Regions from separate parts of the Homo sapiens genome. Here region 2 is linked to region 1. The links are contacts of gene promoters, found by promoter capture Hi-C in human tissues and cell types (Jung and others, 2019). All regions are on one chromosome and are shown on one strand. The core of a region is centred on a gene start or on the middle of the fragment in contact, and the rest is flanking DNA. Distances in the headings are between cores, read along the strand shown.

Region 1 (3,644 bases), core at 703-3,202:
ACGGCAGAGCCTCCCTTCACCTCTCCAGGTGGCATGTAGGCACCGAAATTCATTACAAGAAGAAGCCAGTCTTCACAATGATTATAGTCAATCGTCAGTTCTACCCAGTTTTCTCTATTTCAGAGAGTCCCTCCAAGAAAGCATCTTTACCACCTTTACCCAATCTGTCACGGTGGCATAGTCACTTTTGTCTTTCCATTCCCACTCCCCGCCCTTGCCATCCCTCAGCCCACAAACCACATACAATGTCCTCAGTTGCTCCACACGTTCTCTCAGGGCTCAGAGGAAACATTCAAATTCCTCAGTCCTTATGACCTGCCCCCTCCACCCGACACACACAACGGGTCATGTGATTCCCCTCGTTCCCCCATGAACATCTGGGCTCCAGCCAAGACTGCTCCTTCACCAGCCCCAAGAAGCCATGCTCCTCTGCCTCTGGAGGACTTTTTAAATGACCTGGACCCTCTCTGGGGCTGGTATTTATTCCCTAATCTCCCAACATACTTGGATTTGCCCACTGCGCTGTCTCCCAGGCAGATGATCTTCACGTTGTCATCAGCATCATACTTCCCTTGGTCCAACTCACTCGGTTTGGTTTTGTCTTCTGCCATTGGCTCCTAGCTGTAGAGAGGGGTCCAGCCCAAGGGAGGGGAGGGTATTGTCACTGTCTGGGAAGATCAACAAGAGGCTGTTGTCAGAGATAAGTCCCCTCAACCAAATCTCCAGCTGTACCTCCATCCAGACTGCTTCCCTCAGTGCCAGACTGAGATATGGTATGCAATTGGCTACTAGACTTGGAGTAGCAGAGGATGACACACAGGCATCAGTAATATGTTATACACAAATAGTTAAGTCCTGCGCACCCCAAATGCTGCTCCTCACGTTACCCATTTGCACAAGACATTCACCAGGCATCCAGTGCCAAAGGCTGTGTGCAACATTATGTCTAGCTCTGTTTTACTCTCCTCACACCTAAATATGACTTTGCAGACATTCCTGAGAATGTAACCACAGTCCAGACTCTTAGCTAGGGGGGCACATAGAAATGATATGATGATGAGATAGCAGCAATAGGTGAGCCTTACTGGGCATTCACCATGAGCAGACCTTGCACAGGGTTCAGAGGATGGAAGACACAATGATAGCAGAGTCTACTGTGGTGAGAGCTACGACAGAAGTATGCACACGGGTCAGGGGTAGAAAATACCAACAGGGCCCCCGAGTTTTCCTGACTGTGCCACCACACAGCTACTGCTTCTGCACAGCCAGGGACTTCGCCTTGTTTATCCAGGGAGACAATTCCTGGGAAGTGGCAGATGCCTGGAAAGCATGATGAGGGGTCTGCCCCCTTTCACCTGTACCCTGTAGAGAGAGCGACAGAAAGCCAAATCCAGCTTCATGGCTCCATGCTTGAAGACGTTCTTTCTTTTGTTTAGAGATAGGGTCTCACTCTGTCGCCCAGGCTGGAGTGCAGTGGCGCGATCACGGCTCACTGCAGCCTCCAACTCCTGGACTCAAGCGATCCTCCCTCCTCGGCATCCCTGGACTATAGGCGTGAGCCACCGCTTACGGGCGAAGACTTGCTTGTCGATGTCCTCGCCATCTAAGTGGGTATGCTATCTTTCGATAAATGTTTTTGGCCACCAACCATGTCCAGGCATCGCCAGGCTGCCCGTCCCGCCCCCCACAACAGCCTCGCGAAGCCACCTTTCCGTGCTTCCCCCGACCCGGACGCCCTCTCGCCCACACCGCTAGGGAGGCCTCGGAGGGGCTGTCCCCGCGTGCTAAGCCAGCCACCGGGGCGGATTTGCCCTCACGTGCGGTTCCGAGTGAGGGCTGGAGAGACCAGGGACGCTGCGGGTCGGCCCCTCGGGCCCTGCCGCCAGTCTGGACTCTGCGCGCTCTCGAACCACCCCGCCGGCCCAGCTCGCACCGCAGCGCACTCCACTTCCGGCTCGCCCCGCGTCCTCGCAGCTGCTACGCAACCGCGCAAGGACCCCGAGGGAGGCTGCCCGGCCGAAGGCCTGAAGGACCCCGCCGGGGCGCTGGCTGCCCAGCGCGGCGCCTGGCGGGAGGGCCGCAGGGAGTGCGCATGCGGCCGAGTGCGGGACTGGGGCTCCTGGCTGTGGGTGTGGTACTGAGGCTTCAGCGGGTGCCGCCCGCCTAGAGGGAGTGGAGCGGTGAGCACGTCAGGGGTGGGGGGCGCAGGTCAAGCTTTCACCAGTTTTTAATTCTTTGATGGGGTAAATTTGAGCAATTTTCTCGACTTGTCGACATTCGTTATTAACTGAGCAGGAATCAGGAGAGGAACCCGGTCCTCTCCACACAGCCCAGCAGGTACGCCGCCCATGTGCCTGTGGAGAAGAGAGGTTCCTGTGGGGCAGACAGGTGTGGACCAAGTAGCTGTGAAATTTCTTCTGAAGAAAACACACAAGGAGGAAGCGAGTGAGCTCAGTGGAGGAGGGGCGCTACCCCAGGGGACGTCCCCATGCATGGGCTTGTGAACCTCGAATATGTGAGACGGTCTCAGTCAATTTAGAAAGTTTATTTTGCCAAGGTTGAGGACGCACGCCCGTGACACAGCCTCAGGAGGTCTTGACATGTGCCAAAGGTGGTCGGGACACAGCTTGCTTTTATACATTTTAGGGAGACAGGAGACATCAATATATGTAAGATGAACGTTGGTTCCCTCGGGAAAGGCGGGACAACTCGAAGCAGGGAGGGGGCTTCCAGGTCACAGGTAGGTGAGAGACAAACTGTTGTATTCTTTCGGGTTTCTGAATAGCCTCCGCAAAGGAGGCTATCACATATTAACCTATCTCAGTGAGCAGAGGGGTGACTTTGAATAGATGGGGAGGCAGGTTTGCCCTAAGCAGTTCCCAGCTTTTTTCCCTTTAGCTTAGTGATTTTGGGGCCCCCAGATTCATTTTCCTTTCACAGGCTAGACAGCTTTAGGAACTGAAAGGTTCACGAGGCTGTAACGAAGAGTCGAGTTGCTCCAGGTGAGCCTGGGCCACAACAGCAGGCAGGACCTGGGCGCCCACGAGGGGCTCCTGGGAGGGTTCGGGAAAGGGATGTGTGAACCCTATCTGAGATGGTTTCAGGTAATTTAGAAAGACGTGCACCCGTGACACAGCCTCAGGAGGTCTTGACGACATGTGCCCAAGGTGGTCAGGGCACAGCTTGGTTTTAGGGAGACATGAGACATCAATCAATATATGTAAGAAGTACGTTGCTTCCATCCAGAAAGGTGGGGACAACTGGAAGCAGGGAGGGGGCTTCCAAGGTCACAGGTAGGTGAGAGACAAAGGTTGCATTGTTTTGAGTTTCTGATTAGCCTCTCCAAAGCAGGGAATCAGATATGCACCTATCTTAGTGAGGAGATAGGTGACTTGGAATAGAAAGGGAGGCAGGTTTGCCCTGAGCAGTTCCCAGCTTGACTTTTCCTTTAGCTTAGTAATTTTGGGTCCCCAAAATTTTCCTTTCAGAGAGCCTACGACTAGATTTGCATCTTTACGTCCTGCGCGGAGGCTGCTACACACATGCAGAAGTCATGCTGGTGGCCTGGACATTGAAGGGAGAGAAGTGGATTTGGGAGACATTTAGGAGGTAAGATTGCTAGGACCTTGGTGATAGCTTGGACA
Region 2 (3,644 bases), core at 758-3,257, 76 kb before region 1:
CTGACAAAATTCACATTTTCTGACTGTCAGTCTAGTGTTCTCTATACTAGACTGATACGGATCCACAAAGGAAGCAATATTGGCCAACAATTAATCTTCAGTCTTTGGATTAGTGAGAGGTGACAACGTGCTGGCAGCCGTCACAGCCCTCGCTCACTCTCCCCGCCTCCTCTGCCTGGTTTCCCAGTTTGACGGCACTTGAGGAGCCCTTCAGCCCGCCGCTGCACTGTGGGAGCCCCTTCCTGGGCTGGCCGAGGCCGGAGGCGGCTCCCCCAGCTTGCGGGGAGGTGTGGAGGGAGAGGCGAGGGCGGGAACAGGGGCTGCGCGCGGTGCTTGCGGGCCAGCGCGAGTTCTGGGTGGGTGTGGGCTCGGCGGGCCCCGCACTCGGAGCGGCCGGCAGGCCCTGCCGGCCCCGGGCAATGAGGGGCTTAGCACCCGGGCCAGCGGCTGCGGAGGGTGTGCCGGGTCCCCCAGCAGTGCCGGCCCACCGGCGCTGCGCTCGATTTCTCGCCGGGCCTTAGCTGCCTCCCCGCGGGGCAGGGCTCGGGACCTGCAGCCCGCCATGCCTGAGCCTTCCCAGCTCCGTGGGCTCCTGTGTGGCCAGAGCGCCCCCTGCTCCGCGGTGCCCAGTCCCATCAACTACCCAAGGGCTGAGGAGTGCGGGCGCAGGGCGCGGGACTGGCGGGCAGCTCCACCTGTGGCCCCTGTGCGGGATCCGCTGGGTGAAGCCGGCTGGGCTCCTGACTCTGGTGGGGACTTGGAGAACCTTTGTGTCTAGCTCAGGGATTGTAAACGCACCAATCAGCGCCCTGTCAAAACAGACCACTCGCTCTCTGTAAAATGGACCAATCAGAGGATGTGGGTGGGGCCAGATAAGAGAATAAAAGCGGGCTGCCCGAGCCCCCAGTGGCGACTCGCTGGGGTTCCCTTACCGAGCTGTGGGAGCTTTGTTCTTTCGCTTTTTGCAATAAATCTTGCTGCTGCTCACTCTTTGGGTCCACACTGCCTTTATGAGCTGTAACACTCACGGTGAAGGTCCGCAGCTTCACTCCTGAGCCGGCGAGACCACGAACCCACCAGAAGGAAGAAACTCCGAACATCAGAAGGAACCAACTCCGGACATGCCGCCTTTAAGAACTGTAACACTCACCGCGAGGAGCCACGGCTTCATTCTGGAAGTCAGTGAGACCGAGAACCCACTGAGTCCGGACACATTAGGATGTTAGAGTCCCACCTTCAAAGCATTTTTCTCCTGGAGTGGACTTTGCACAAATGGTAGGCCAATTGTGGAGTCAGTGAAGAACCAGGCTAATCCAGCTTGTTTTATTGGCCCCAGTTTTTCTTCTCAGGGCCGTAAACCAGTTATTACCAGGAAACAAAAGCAAAGTAAGTATTAAGTTTTGAATTGGTATTGAGGAGAAACATCTAAAATCAAGTCTCGCCAATCTAATTAAATTAGATTCCCAAACCGGAAGAAGCTTTGCAATTACTGCCAAAATGTCTCAGAGGGCATTAGGTTAATTGAAGCTGGAGAGGAGTGAGAAAAGAGGCAGCTGCTAGTCACTGAGAATAAGGACTCTCTATTTGCTGTGAGGTTTGTAGGGGCAGCACTTTGCTGTTGGGGTTTGGTAAGGGGATTTGTTTTAAAATTGGAATTATATTTTGTTGGCTTTTAATCATAAGCAGGGAAATACATTTTTCCTACGCCTAAGAATTTACATAAGCTAATTTGTTCCATAATTAGAAAAATCCTTGCTTTTAGCATATGGACTGTAACAATAGGGGTTGTAACTCGTGAGTCGTGTGACACATTGTTTCCCTTTGGTGAAGTTTTACTTTAAGATCTGTTGAGTATATCCAGGGAGAGAGATGAAGGTCAAGACATGCTTATTTTTACAGAGAGAGAGAGAGAGAGAGAGAAAGAGATTCATTAAACTTTGAGTTATACTTTATTTTTATTTATTTATTTTTTTGAGATGGGGTCTTGCTCTGTCACCCAGGCTGGAGTACAGTGGCATGATCTTGGCTCATTGCAACCTCCACTACCAGGGCTCAAGTGATTCTCCCACCTCAGCCTCTCAAGTTGCTGGGACTACAGGTGCACACCAACAAGCCTGGCTAAGTTTTTTGATTTTTAGTAGCAATGAGGTCTTGCTATTTTGCCTAGGCTGGTCTCGAACTCCTGGCCTCAAGCAATCTGCCTGCCTTAGCTTCCCAAAGTGCTAGGATTACAGATGTGAGCCACCGTGCCTGGCCCATATTTTACTCAGTAGGAATCTTTGCTATTTGCTATGATTTTTAATTCTTCTTGTATCTTAATTTTGCTTCCCCAATGAGTATGTTAAATGTTCTTTAAAATCTTCCTGTAAAAAAGTAAACATATTAAACAGCAGTTCTCTAATTGAATGTGCTAATTTGATAAATATTTGAGTGGATACCTACTATTTGCAAAGCTTCAAGGAATACAGTGGTGAGTAAGATAGTCTTTTTTTTTTTTTGAGACAGAGTCTTGCTCTGTCTCCCAGGCTGGAGTGCAGTGGTGTGATCTCGGCTAACTGCAACCTCCACTTCCTGGGTTTCAAGTGATTCTCCTGCTTCAGCCTCCCAAGTAGCTTAGATTACAGAAGCACATTACCATTCTTGGTTAATTTTTGTATTTTTAGTAGACATAGTTTCACCATGTTGGCCAGGCTGGTCTCGAACTCCTGAGTTCAAGTGATCCCGCCTGTCTCGGCCTCCCAAAGTGCTGGGATTACAGGTGTGAGAGACTGCACTTGGCCAATAAGATAGTCTTTAATGTCAAGGAGTTTATGATTTTTTTCTTGGCGGAGGTGATAAGAAAATATGTAAAAACAATAAACATAGGTTACAGTAGTTGGCATCAAAGGAATGGGGAAGGGCTTTTTACCAAGCTTGTCTAGCTTGTGTACCGCAGGCTGCATGTGGGCCAACACAAATTCATAAACTCTCTTTAGACATTATGAGATTTTTTTTTTTTTTTTTTAGCTCACCAGTCATCATTAGTGTTAGTGTATCTTATGTGTGGCCCAGGAAGCCAAAAGATCAGACACCCCTGCACAGAGAAAGTAGCGCTTGAGATGAACTTGAAGGTTGAAATTAAACTTTGAGAGGTATTGTTGGCAGGCAGGAGATAGGAAGCAAATAACTGCATCGAGTTGGAGAAATTTGTTGGTCTTTGGGGAAAAGCAAGTAGTTCAGTCTGGCAGGAGTTGGAATAAGTGTTAGGGAATAATGGGAAATAGAGTTAGAAAAGCAAATTGTGAAATACTGTGTATCAGTCGGCTTAGGCAGTTAAACTGCAGTAACAAAGGACTCTCCAAATCACAGCAATACTACAAGCTTATTTCTCTCTTACATTACATTTCCCTTGTGGGTATCTGTAGCTCTGCTCCATGGCTCCTTTGTTCTGGGGTCAGGCTGCAGAAGCAGCTTCGATCTGGGTTATCATCAATTCTGGCCAAGGGAAAGAAAATATGGGAGAACTGTTCAATGGTTTTCGTAGTGTCCGCTTGACTGTGGCACATGTTACAGCTGTTCACGTTTCATTGGCCAAAGCAAGTCACTTGGCCATGCCTGCCATCCCTGGGAAAGGGGAAATATAATCCTCTTACAGGAAAGGACAA

Evidence for each region. Contacts are between HindIII fragments. The study calls those that stand out against the background at their distance.
Region 2: a fragment that was not itself captured here is called in contact with the fragment with the promoter of RABL2A in region 1 in 2 of the 25 tissues and cell types used here (mesenchymal stem cells and spleen).

Annotation. Positions count from the first base shown.
Region 1 is chr2:113,625,574-113,629,217 of GRCh38, reverse strand. It overlaps RABL2A (RAB, member of RAS oncogene family like 2A), which reads right to left and starts at 1,952. Exons shown (of 9, transcript NM_001306158.2): 1 at 1,818-1,952; 2 at 505-664. The coding sequence starts at 611. It also overlaps the pseudogene RPL23AP7. RefSeq lists a silencer at 1,883-2,192. The HindIII fragment of the contact is 9,827 bases long and covers 1-3,581 here.
Region 2 is chr2:113,701,439-113,705,082 of GRCh38, reverse strand. It overlaps LINC02936 (long intergenic non-protein coding RNA 2936), which reads left to right and starts at 909. Exons shown (of 3, transcript NR_186169.1): 1 at 909-1,386. It also overlaps a transcript of SLC35F5 not described here. The HindIII fragment of the contact is 3,230 bases long and covers 393-3,622 here.